2 separate regions of the Homo sapiens genome follow, and region 1 is linked to region 2. Evidence: promoter capture Hi-C in human tissues and cell types (Jung and others, 2019). All regions are on one chromosome and are shown on one strand. Each heading gives the region's core, a stretch centred on a gene start or on the middle of the fragment in contact. The rest is flanking DNA. Distances are from core to core; before and after follow the strand shown.

The links. Contacts are between HindIII fragments. The study calls those that stand out against the background at their distance.
Region 1: a contact is called between a fragment that was not itself captured here and the fragment with the promoter of HIF3A in region 2, in 1 of the 25 tissues and cell types used here (bladder).

What each region holds. Positions count from the first base shown.
Region 1 is chr19:46,247,960-46,254,279 of GRCh38, forward strand. LOC124904728 (a long non-coding RNA gene) reads right to left here and starts at 2,248. Exons shown (of 2, transcript XR_007067273.1): 1 at 2,186-2,248. The HindIII fragment of the contact is 6,217 bases long and covers 1-4,420 here.
Region 2 is chr19:46,292,753-46,299,366 of GRCh38, forward strand. HIF3A (hypoxia inducible factor 3 subunit alpha) reads left to right here and starts at 4,290. Exons shown (of 15, transcript NM_152795.4): 1 at 4,290-4,350. The coding sequence starts at 4,325. The HindIII fragment of the contact is 13,814 bases long and covers 593-6,614 here.

The DNA of each region.
Region 1 (6,320 bases), core at 62-2,561, 48 kb before region 2:
TACAAAAACAAAAAATAAACAAAATTAAAAAATTATAAGTACCTGAGGTGATAGATAGCGTAATTAACTGGATTTAATCATTCAACAAGTTAAGCCTACATTAAATCATCACATTTTACCCAATGTGAATAAACAATTATTCTTTGTCAATTTCCTAAAAAAATTCCTAGCAGAAAACGTGGAAGTAAATCTTGATGACCTCAAGTTAGGTAATATTTTCTTAGATATTACACCAAAAACACAAGAGACAAAAGGAAGAATAGACCTCATCAAAAATTAAAAACCTATGCACTGCAAGCATCAAGGAAATGAAGACAATCCACATAATGAGAGAAGTGTTTGCAAATCATGTATTTGATAAGGGATGAGTATCCAGAATATATTTTAAAACTCTTACAACTATATAATAATAAAATAAGCAACCCAATTAAAACATGGAAAAAATCTGAATAAACTTTTTTCAAAAAGGAATACAAATGGCCAATAAGCACATGGAAAAGATATTCAGCGTCATTATTCATTAAGGAAATGCAAATTAAAACTACACAGGATATCATACGCACCCACCCAGATGACTGTAATAAACAGGAAAATAGAAAATAACAAAGGTTGAAGAATCTGGAGAGAAATGTGAGCCCTCATACACTGCTGATGGGAATGTAATTGATGCGGCTCTGTGGAAAACAGTTTGCCAATTCCTCAAAAACTTAAACAGAATTACCATGTGGCGCAGCAATTCCACTCCTACATGTACACCCCAAAATAATTGAAAACAGGTTCTCAAGCAAATACATGTATATGTATGTTCATAACAGCACTATTCACAACAGCCCAAGTGTCCATCAACAGATGAATGGATAAATGAATGCTGATACATGGATACAATTGAATTTATTCAGTTATAAAAAGGAATGAAATACTAATAAATTCTACAATGGGGATACAATTGTAGAAATTGTAACAATGAAAACAATAAACAAAGTAAAAAAAAAGAAGGTGACACAAAAGTTCACATATGGTGTGATTCCATTTATATGAAATGTCCCAGATAGGTAAATCCATACAGATGGAAAGCCGACTGGTAGTTGCCAAGGGTGAGGGTAGAGGGGAAGGGGAGGAACAGCTAAGTAGGCATACAGTGGTCGGGGGCTGTGGAGCCAGGTGACTCGGAGCTAAAAAGCAATTCTGGAAGATGACTGAGCTACTCTTCTTTCAACTTGAGAGAGGAAGAGAAGGAAGGAGAGGAGGGAAAAGACAGGGAGGGGAAGAGAGGAGAGTGGGGCAGTGGAGGGGGAGAGAGAGAGAGAGAGAGATTGATGGTTGCGCAAAAAGAAGCTAGTGAACACAGCAGGCATTGCTCACCTTGATGGAATACACACAACAAAACTCTGTCCACCGCCTGGGCTGCCCTTACTTGAGCACACTCCTGGGGTAGTCAGGCCTCACTCCTGGGACATGGAGCCTCACTACTGCCTGGTGCTGAGAGCCCAGGGGCTCCAGTCAGCAGTGCTGGAAGCAGGGCCAGAAGTGCAGTTAGGACCACAGAGCTGGGTCTTGTTCAAGGACAGGATGATCCCCTTATTACAGCCCCAAGAGATTGCAGATCTGGTCTCCACTCTGGAGTGTCAACTGGCACAACCACAGTCCAATATCTGGAAGAGTCAGAGCTGATGAGCTGACAGGGGACCTCTGGGAGCCCCCAACCCTATCCACAGTGCTATAATCCTCCCTCCTCTCTTCTCCCTCCGCTCACCACACCCCTTCTCATCTGTGGTCCCTTCTGAGTCTGAGCCCAGGAGTTCAAAAACAAAGATCAGCTGAGAGCAGAAGGAGAATGACAATGTTTCTGGGGTCACCGGATCATGATCATTGGGGCACAAGATGATGTCTCTGAGTTTCTTTGGTTGCTGTAACAGCTCACAGTGGATTTTGGGACTGACTCTGGATGTAGGTCCTGGGGACTGGGCTTGGCAGGTGAGGAAATGCAGGGAGGGCTCTGGAAAGGGTTAAGCTTCTGGAATTTGCAGGTGGGGAGAGAGATTGCAATGCAGTCAGAGAGGACACGGGTGATTATGAGGTGGGAAACCGAGAATTAAACAGAAAAGAGAAAATTAAGTTTGAAGTTCAGAGGTACCTTAGGGATAACATTAGGCATTAGCTCAGCTTGGGGCTGGGGATGACTTACCGAAGATTCTGGGCACCATGGTTTAGGCTTCAGAGCAGCAGATGAGAGAGCAGCAGTGGAAATGGGTCAGTGACTTTACACAGGAGATTATTATAGGGTATGAACTTACCCATATTTAGGGAGGTGTGCAGAAGGAGTGGTTTCTTAAAAAGGGTGGGGCATGAAAAGCCACAGAAAGCATAACAAAATAAAAGCATTGACACATTAGTAGGATGCTACTGGACCTGTTCCAGGGCTGTCATGTTCTCAGACAGCTCAAAACTCAGGGCATGAAGGACATTTTCTCCGGTATTCACTGTGAGAACCTCATAGGGTTCCTGGAGGTAAAACTCTTAGAAAAGTGCAGAGGCTCCCCTTAGACTGGGCCCCCTGGAATTTTTAATTCTCAGATTGCTCCACCCTGAGCCTCCAGGAATTCATTCGTTAGACTTCATGTTTTCCTATCCTGGTACTGGTTCCCACAGGGGTTTCTGGTCATGGGTTTCTGTTGCAGTAGTTTTGATTCTCTGTATCCACCTGCCTGTGTCAACAAATCTTAGGGCAGTGGTTTGCCCTGTGACCCCACTCCTCTAATGGATATAAGAAGAAGTGTTAATTGTTTCTTTGTTCAGTATTCACTTTCTGTTAAGATGGAGTGATGAGTTCCAAGTTTCTTACATGCTTGACTGGAAACTGGAAGTCCCAGAGAACATTTCTTTAGAGATGAGGTCTCACTATGTTGCCCAGGTTAGACTTGAACTCTTGGGCTCAAGTGATCCTCCCACATCAGCCTCCTGAGTATCTGGGATTATAAGCATGTGCCATAGCACCGGCTCAAAAACCTACTTTTAATAATGTTCATCCTCTGCAAGCTGAGACTTTCTTTATGACCCAACATATGTGTGGGGTTCCCAGTTTACATGATATTTACAAACACGTTGACTTTACTGGATGCTTATACGTCCTCATTTCATTGTGCTTAAAGAGGAAACTGTAGCTCAGAGAGGTTAAGTACGTTTTGAAATGCCACAACTAGTAATGGTAAACCTGGGTCCCTAAAGTCACGAGAGAGAATTATGAGAGTATGATAGGAAACTTCAAAGGTACCGAAGGCAGAAACTGCTAACAGCATTGGTCTCTGAGGAGTGCAAACGAGCAAATGAGGGGGGAGGTAAAAGGAGGGGAAGGAGATTTTTATTTTTAATTTTCAAAAACCATGTGCTGAAAGTTTTATGCTTTGCATGCATATCTCTAATAATTTAGGGTGAATTTGGGTTGGGCAAATACCCAGGAGAGTGACCAATGGCAAGACAAGACAATGAGAGAGGTAAGCGTGAGTCCTATGGGATGCATAGAGTGAGTCCTTAATTCTCTATCAGTGAGGGAAGTTGGAAGCAGGGTGGGAAGGTTGGGAGAAAGAGAAACCCTGAAGGGAACTAAGTTACTGGGAGCAGGTGCTGGTAGGTGAGTCATGCTGTGGAAGCCTGTTTGCACTGTTTCAAGGAGTGACTCTTTGGTTGGATGAAAAAGGGACGCCGTGGGTGTAGGTAGAGAAGGTGCTGGAGGGGAAGGCAGGCCCAGGTAGCAAAGGGCCTTGTGGGACAAGCTGGGAGCCTGGGTTTCATCCTAGCGGTGGTGGGGAGTCGTTCAATAATTTTTTTGGTTTTTTCTTTTCTTTTCTTTTCTTTTTTTTTTTTTTGAGACAGAGTTTTGCTCTTGTTGCCCAGGCTGGAGTGCAATGGCGCCATCTCGGCTTATCACAACCTCTGCCTCCAAGGCTCAAGCAATTCTCCTGCGTCAGTCTCCCAAGTAGCCGGGATTACAGACATGCACCACCACACCCAGCTAATTTTTTTTAATTTTTATTTTTTGTATTTTTAGTAGAGATGGAGTTTCTCCATGTTGATCAGGCTGGTCTTGAACTCCCAACCTCAGGTGATCCACCCTCCTTCGGCCTCCCAAAGTGCTGGGATTACAGGTGTGAGCCACCGCGACTGGCCATCACTCAATAATTTTAAGCAGTGAAACTCATGACCAGATTTGCATTCTTCTAAAACCAGGCCCCACTCTGTGATCCTGGCGTGTCTTCCCAGACACCCGGGACTATCACAGTCACCACTGCAGCAGGGCAGCGTTTTCCAGCACACTATTATCACCTTGCTCATGTGTTTATTTACTTTGCAAAAATATTGGTTTGTTAGTGTCAGAGACAATTCCCCATGGATCTCTTGCTTTTTTGCTGGCCTGGCAGTGAGGCATTGACTGTCCTTTTGTTCCACACTCTTTTCAAGGATGTTTGTGTAGTGTACTGCCTTGGAAGACAGAGGTAAGGTTTCCCTTTAGAGCAAAGAATACTTGTTTACTGTCCTGTATAAAAATAATACTCTCTTCCTCCAGGTCATTTAGGCTCTGATAAAACCCTAATAATTTAGATTCTGGTAAAATGCTTTCTCTTAATGGCAGAGCTTGTTAAGAAGAACAGAATACTCTGGTGTGTTTCACAGCGGTTACTTTCCCCCTTCCCACTTCATGCCAGACCATGAAGGAGATTTTTCTCCCATATTCACTGTGAGAACCTGATAGGGTTCCTGGAGGTAAAACTCTTAGAAAAATGCAGAGGCTCCCCTTAGACTGGGCCCCCTGGAGTTTTTAATTCTCAGACTGCTCCGCCGTGAGCCTCCAGGAATTCATTCATTAGACTTCATGTTTTCCTGTCCTGGTACTGGTTCCCACAGGGGTTTCTGGTCATGGGTTTCTGTTGCAGTAGTTTTGATTCTCTGTATCCACCTGCCTGTCTCTCGAAATCTTAAGGGCAGTGGTTTGCTCTGTGATCCCACTCCTCTAATGGATGTAAGAATTGTTAATTTTCTCTTTGTTCAGTATTCACTTTCTGTTAAGATGCAGTGATGAGTTCCAAGCCTCTTACATGCTTGACTGGAAGCTGGGAGTCCCAGAGAACATTTCTTTAGAGATGAGGTATCACTATGTTGCCCAGGTTAGACTTGAACTCTCAGGCTCAAGTGATCCTCCCACATCAGCCTCCTGAGTATCTGGGATTATAGGCATCTGCCATAGCACCCAGCTCAAAAACCTACTTTTAATAATAATCATCCTTTGGAAGCTGAGACTTTCTTTATGACCCATCATATGATCAATTTAGCATAAATGTTTAACATAGACTTGAAAAAAATGTATGTTCTACCACTGATGAGAGAGAGATATTTATATATTTGCATATATAAAATTAGGCCAGGTGTGTTGGCTCACACCTGTAATCCCAGCACTTTGGGAGTCCGAGGTGGGCAGATCACCTGAGGTCAGGTGTTCAAGACCAGCCTGGCCAATATGGTGAAACCCAGTCTTTACTAAAAATACAAAAATTAGCTGGGTGTGGTGGTGGGCACCTGTAATCCCAGATGCTCGGGAGGCTGAGGCAGAAGAATCACTTGAACCTGGAAGGCAGAGGCTGCAGTGAGCTGAGACGGTGCCACTGCACTCCGGCCTGGGATATTGAGCGAGACTTCAACTTAAAAAAAAAAAAAATTTCTTGCATTTCTATACACTAACAATGAACAAGCCAAAAAGGAAATTAAGAAAACTACCTCATTTATAATACCATCAAAAAGAATAAAGTGCTTCAGGCCAGGCATGGTGGCTCACGCCTGTAATCCCAGCACTTTGGCAGGCTGAGGCAGGTGGATCACTTGAGGTCAGGAGTTCAAGACCAGCCTGGTCAACATGGTGAAACCCCGTCTCTACTAAAAATATGAAAATTAGCCGGGCATGGTGACGCTCGCCTGTAATCCTAGCTACTCCAGAGGCTGAGGCAAGAGAATTGCTTGAACCCAGGAGGGGGAGGTTACAGTGTGCCAAGATCATGCCACTGCACTCCAGCCTGGGCCACAGAGCAAGACTCTGTCTCAAAAAATAAAAATAAAAAAAGAATAAAATAATTCAGAATAAACTTAACCAAGAGAGCAAATGACTTGTATAGTGCAAACTACAAAACATTGTTGAAAAAAAGTAATGAAGACACAAATAAATGGAAAGACAGTCTGTGTTCATGGGTTGGAAGATTTAATATTGTAACAATGTCCATACTACCCAAAGTGATCTACAGCTTCAAAGCAATCTCTATCAAAATCTCAATGACAAT
Region 2 (6,614 bases), core at 3,040-5,539:
TTCCAGAGGATTTTGTTTTGTTTTGTTTCGTTTTGTTTTGTTTTTTAATACAGGGTCTCTGTCACCCAGGCTGGAGTAAATGGCAGGATCATAGCTCACTGCAGCCTCAACTTCCTGGATTCAATCAATCCTCTTCCCTGAGCCTCCTGAGTAGCTGAGACTACAGGTGCATGCCACCATGCCCAGCTAATTTTTAAATTTTTTAAAGAGATGGGCTCTCACTATGTTGCTCAGGCTTGTCTCAAACTCCTGGCCTCAAGCAATCCTCCTGCCTTGGCCTCCCAAACCTGGGATTACAAGTGTGAACTACCACACCCAGCTCCCAGAGGAATCCTTATCAGGCACATGTTGTGTTCTGTCCTGCTCAAAACTCGGCCATGGCTCCCCAGTGCTCCCTGGGGAATGCCCGAGATTCTTTAATGGCTTTCAGACTTGGTTTGATCTCACCCCGATGCACCCCTCCACCATCACTTCCCATCTCCTCTCTTTATAATCCAGGCTGCAACCACTGTCTACCTGTCAGTTCCCTCAATGTGCCAAGCTCTCTTTTGCCTCCAAACTGTTGTATTATCTTCCCTTTGCCTACAATACTTTTCCCCCAGCCCTCTCATTCATGTATTTATTTATTTTACAGATGAGGTCTCACTCTGTTGCCCAGACTGGAGTGCAGTGGCACAATCATAGCTCATTGCAGCCTCCAGCTCCTGGGCTCAAGCAATCCTCCCGTCTCAGCCTCCCAAGTAACTGGGACTATAGGTGCACATCACCATGCCTGGCAAAGTTAAAAAAAAAAATTAAGAGATAGAGGCCGGGCCGGGCGCGGTGGCTCACGCCTGTAATCCCAGCACTTTGGGAGGCCGAGGCAGGTGGATCATGAGGTCAGGAGATCGAGACCATCCTGGCTAACAAGGTGAAACCCCGTCTCTACTAAAAATACAAAAAATTAGCCGGGCGCGGTAGCGGGCGCCTGTAGTCCCAGCTACTCGGGAGGCTGAGGCAGGAGAATGGCGTGAACCCGGGAAGCGGAGCTTGCAGTGAGCCGAGATTTCGCCACTGCAGTCCGCAGTCCAGCCTGGGCGACAGAGCGAGACTCCGTCTCAAAAAAAAAAAAAAAAAAAAAAAAAAAGAGATAGAGGCCGGGTGCAGTGGCTCATGCCTCTAATCCCAGCTCTTTGGGAGGTTGAGATGGGCGGATCACCTGAGGTCTGGATTTTGAGACCATTTTGGCCAACATGGTGAAACCCCATCTCTACTAAAAATACAAAAATTAGCCAGGCGTGATGTCAGATGCCTGTAATCCCAGCTACTAAGGAGGCCAAGGCAGGAGAATTGCTTGAACCTGGGAGGCAGAGGTTGCAGTGAGCCAAATCGCACCAATGAACTCCAGCCTAGGCGACAAGAGCAACACTCAGTCTCAAAAAATAAATAAATACATACATAAATAAAATAAAAATTAAGAGATGGGATCTTGCTATGTTGCCCAGGCTGGTCTCAAACTCCTGGCCTCAAACGATCCTCCCCCTTCAGCCTCCTGAGTCATTGAGATTACAGTTGAGAGCCACTGCACTCGGCTGTCCCCAACCCTCTCTCTGCTTGCCTCACTGTTATTCCTTCTTAAGTCTGCATCCAAATGCCCCTTCCACAATAAACCTTTCTGACAGCCCCGACAGGGTGGGTAAGGTGCTTCCACCAAGCTCCCACAGTTCCTGGCAGTTCAGACCACTCTACAATTTAATATTAAAAGGTCTTAAATTCCCACTTAACTTCAGTTCCAGGTACAAAACTTGTCTCTTCAAACAAGAACATATCCTTTAGCAAAAGTTGGAAATCATTTTAACGGACACATTTCCCTTATTGCCTTAGCTGCTGGGAACCTCTGAGCGAAGTTTAACGCTAACCTACATCGTAGAGAGACACCTGTTGCATCTCTGTGTGTAAAGTGTTAGTTCTATTTTAATGTTTGTTGAAATAGTGCCAGCTTTTCTTGGGCACTGTAAATCCCTCCGATTGGCTCTCTGCTGTGACTCCCTCATACCAAAATCAATGAGTTCTTCCACTGAATCTATCATCCAACTACTGCCCCCTCCAAACTCTTCCAACACACCCACTGGAACTCTCGTTGTCTTGTTAACAACCACTCCCCTTCCTCAGTTTCTCCCTTGAACATCTCTTCTACCCCATGTCCTTACCTAAACCCTAAGAAGCTCTAAGAACAATGCTTCCTCTGCAGCCCCTTCTACTATTTATTTATTTATTTATTTATTTAGAGACAGAGTCTTACTCTGTCACTCAGGCTGGAGTGCAATGGCATGATCTTGGCTCACTGCAACCTCTGCCTCCTGGGTTCAAGCGATTCTCCTGCCTCAGCCTCCCGAGTAGCTGGGATTACAAGGGTGTGCCACCACACCCGGCTAATTTTTGTATTTTTAGTAGAGATGGGGTTTCACCATGTTGGCCAGGCTGGTCTTGAACTCCTGACCTCAGGTGATCTGCCCGCCTCAGCCTCCCAAAGTGCTGGGATTACAGTCGTGAGCCACCATGGCCGGCCCCCCTTTATAATTCAGACTGCTCCTTTTCTAACATCCCACCTGCCTCTACACTGAGGGTTGAAAGCTGATTTCTCTATCAAGATTCTTTTGGGTGCAAGTATCTAAAATCCATTCAAACGAATCTAAGCACAAAGCAAATAAGGCAATAGTGAATGAAGCAATATTTGACAAAAGCAACAGCAAAAAAAAAAAAAAAAAAAAAAAAAAGCCCATTGTGGGTTTCATTTGAAAAATCCAAGAATTAAACTGGAGTTCAGGTATGGCTGGATCCAGGCACTCAAGTGCTGGTGTCAAAACTGCCTTTCACAATCGTTCATTTCTGCACAATCTCTTTTGCACTGAACCTCATCTCATAAAGCCTCTCCTCTCTTTGTGGCAGTGTGAGCCCCATCTGCTCCATCTGCCCAGCAATTCCAGCAGACATAGAAAATCCTCTTTCCTAATGGTTTCAGCAAATGTCTCAGGGTTGATTCTCATTGGGCTAAATTAGGTAACATGCCTTCCCTGAACCAATCACTGTGGCCAGGGAAGCAGACTCAACTGATTAGCCAGGTTTGGATCCTATGTCCATCCCTGGAGCTGGTGAAGGCAGAGCAGTGGCCAAGCCCTATTCAAATTAAATAGATGAAGAGGACAGAGAAGTGGTTTCCCAAAAGAAAACAGAGTGGGGAACTGGCGTGAGCCGGGGAGCCGTGTGGATTCCTGGAGGAAGAGTGTGCTAAGCTGTGGGAACAGCAAGTGCAAAGGCCCTAAGGTGAGCAACTTGCCTGGCAAGTTCAAGGTTCAACAAGGCCACTTCTGCTGTAGTATCCTCTTCCCTGCCAACCAAATCCAGAATAGTGGTCCAACACACACACACACACACACACACACACACACTCTGTTCCTTATCCAACTGTAATGCTTTCACCCTTGCTTGGTACCTTTGTACTTCTCCCTTCATAGTCGACTAGTTAAAAAAAAATACATTTCTCGGCTCTTTTTTGAAGTAGGTGTGATTGAGTTAAAACATATTTACTTGACATAAGCTTAATTATTCATCAATGGGAACCTGAAAAGGGAGTCAGAGAGGCCAAGAGGTTAGGGTGGAGTAGAGGGGGTAGGGAAGGTAAGCTGGGGTGCAGAGGGTGCAGACTGGAGGAATGGGGGCGAAGTGGGGTATGGGACTGGGGTGGCAGGGAGGGGCTGGGGAGAGAGAGAGAAGGGTAGGTGCCAGAGGGCCAAGGATTGTGGAACTGGGGTGGGGTTGGGAGTTGGGGGGTGGGGAGGAGATGTGGGGTACTCTGTGAATACCTTAGAAGGGATAGAGAAGGCAGGGCTAGGGGTTTGGAAGGGGTGGGATTGGAGGTCAGAGGGGCTCAACTGGGGTTAGGAAATGGAAAGGTGAGAAGAGGTGGGGGTTAGAGGCTGGGGACTGGGGTCCAGAGAGCAGAGTGAACTGAGTGGGTTCAGAAGAGTACTGGCGTTGGCACTTCAGAGGCTGGACTAGAGAAGGCGCGTTCAGCCGACGGTGCGGGATACACTGCCGAGGAAGTCCGCGGCGAGGGGCGTGGTTGGGGGGTGTGTATTACACGGTATCCCCCCCTTGCCTTTCCAAGTCTTTCCCTCTGGTTCCGCCTCCTTTTCAGGAGTGACATACCGTTGCCCAATCAGAGCCTCAGGCCTGGCGTGGCACAGCCAACCGCGCGGCGTGGGGAGGAGCTGGGGAGGGGGCTCGCAAGGCCGGGGAGGGGGCTAGGGGCCTCCGAGGGCTCCGGAGCGGCGACTGGCGAGCCATGGCGCTGGGGCTGCAGCGCGCAAGGTACTGAAGTTCGGGGGCAGGAGTTCTGGGAATTGGGGGGCTCTCCTCCTGGAGACCCCTGAGCTGGATTGTTGGGGGGGGTGGGGTTCGCGGGTGCGAGCCAAGAACGCCCCGGGGCGCGCAGTTGGAGGCACATCCCCACCGCACTCTCCACCCTTAGGGACTGCAGGGGTGGGGGATTCCCTACGTCTCTGGCTGCCCCGCCCCTCTGGCCAAGAGCGGCTTCGGGGTTCCCGATTTCTCGCTACCCAAGGCTCATTTACCCTCCTGGTTGGGGGTGGAACTTGGGATTCCTGATAAATTAGGGGTGATTGCATTTGAGCAGTCCCCAGGCTTCTGCGGGAGATATTCGCCCTCCACATATTGATCCCTCTGGCCTCTGAACCCCCCAAAATTGAGGGTATTCTTTGCCACCAGGTGCCTGGGATCCTAGGTGATATGGGATACCCCTAAATGGAGCCTTCCCACATATAGGGAGTCCCTTGGAATGGCATTCAGCTCCTGAGTTCAAGAGAGGAGAGATCTCCTCTAATAGTATGCTTCCTGACACAGTCTCCTAAACATTGGGTTTCCCTAGAAATGGGCAGAGGGGAGCCCCTTTCAGAAGCCGTCTGGGACCCTTCCCAAGAGACTTTTTGTATCCTTTCAAAAGCCAGAGTCACCCCCTTAAATAACAGGGAAACAAGCTGGACCCACTTCCCAAAGTCCAGCCCCTCATCTCACCCCTGCACCCCCATCCTGAGAGACAGGGGAGCCTCATCCAAGCTTTATTTTGGGGAGACTCCATGGCAGGGTGCTGTGAGCCTGCAGGCTGTGATGGGAACGCCCCCTGCCGCAGTACTCAGATGGGGTCATCCCGGGCAGAGGGTGGGTTTCTGGGTTCACTTGCCCAGCAGGTGCAGCTCTGCTGGAACACAGGGGAACCTGTGCCCTGGGGCCGCTGCCGGGGGGTTTTATCTGGCCATGTTCCCATGGGACCCTGGAAAATGTTCTAGGTCCTCAGCTTTCCCTGTCCAATGTGAGGCACCCAGTAAGCCTCACCCCCTTCCCTCCTCCCTGGCTTCTCAGGCCTGATTGGATCCATGCACACCCCATGTTTCTAACCGCCCCCATCCTCTCCCCTGTCCCCTACTCTATTCCAGGCCCTGGCTCTGGGCCTAACAAGGAACTCTATCCCACCCCTTTTGGGCCAGCTGTCGTTCCGCCCCTCTCAGCGCCCCCTCCTGGCTGGGTGGGGGCCCCTCTTGGCTGAGCTCGGGTGCCCCCCCTCCCCACCCAAGGCCGGCCCTTTCCTGTGGAGTCATCTCACCGCCGTGCGCACCCACTCGTAACTCGCACCCGGGTCCTGGCTGCACCGCATCCCCTCCTGCACCCCCTGGATGGCCCTTCAGCCAACGGGGGCCTGGGCGATGGTGAGTGGGCCCCCAACACCTCCTTTCCCCCTTCCCTTCCTCTAGCTGGGGCTGGCTGCCATCCCACTGTGGCCAAGGATGCTCTTGGGAAGTCCCTGGTGGGTACGGCTTGCAGCCCAGAGTGCCCAGTGAGGTAGTATTCCCGGAGAAGATAGGATTTTGGGGACCAGCACCCTACCAGATTACCATGTCCTTGAGAACAGGCAGAGTCGGGGGGCAGAGAGACTCCCCCAGACCCCCATGCCAAGTCCCTTTGCAAACCCAAACCCTGCCTCTGGTCTCTCAGGACACCTCTCTGCAATGCCAAAAGGCATCCTTGCCCAGCTACAACCTAAACCCCCACCCACCAAATCCTCTGTGCTTTTCGTAAGACGCCCCCCCCCAATACCCAGCTGGGTGTCAGAATAGAAAAGCCCAGAAGTAGCCCTGAATGTGGGCAGGGACTGCCTGCTTTTATTATGCCTTCCTCATGGGTGGCAAATTCTTCAGGGCAGGGAAGAGGTGAACTTCTCTCCTTCCTGGTTGGAGGGGGGCACTGGGCCCCAACCCCCATTCTCAGGCCTCACCCTGAGCCCGCCAGGCCCTGGCCCCACCCCCTGTTCTTGGCTGGAACACGGAGGAAGGGTGGCAGGGTTCCAGCTGCACGTCCCAAGCTGGGCAGAGTGCCAGGGGGCTGGACCAGGGCTGGGCATGGGGCCAGCTGGGGCGATCTGGAGGCAGCAGGGGTGTGACGGGGGAAGGGACCGAGGCTGCTAGGCAAAAGAGGGGTGGGGCAGGGGCCTCTTGGGTGGGGGCCACACCTGCCAAGAGCACAGGGCCCAAAGACAGGGTTCAAATCCCATCTCACCCACT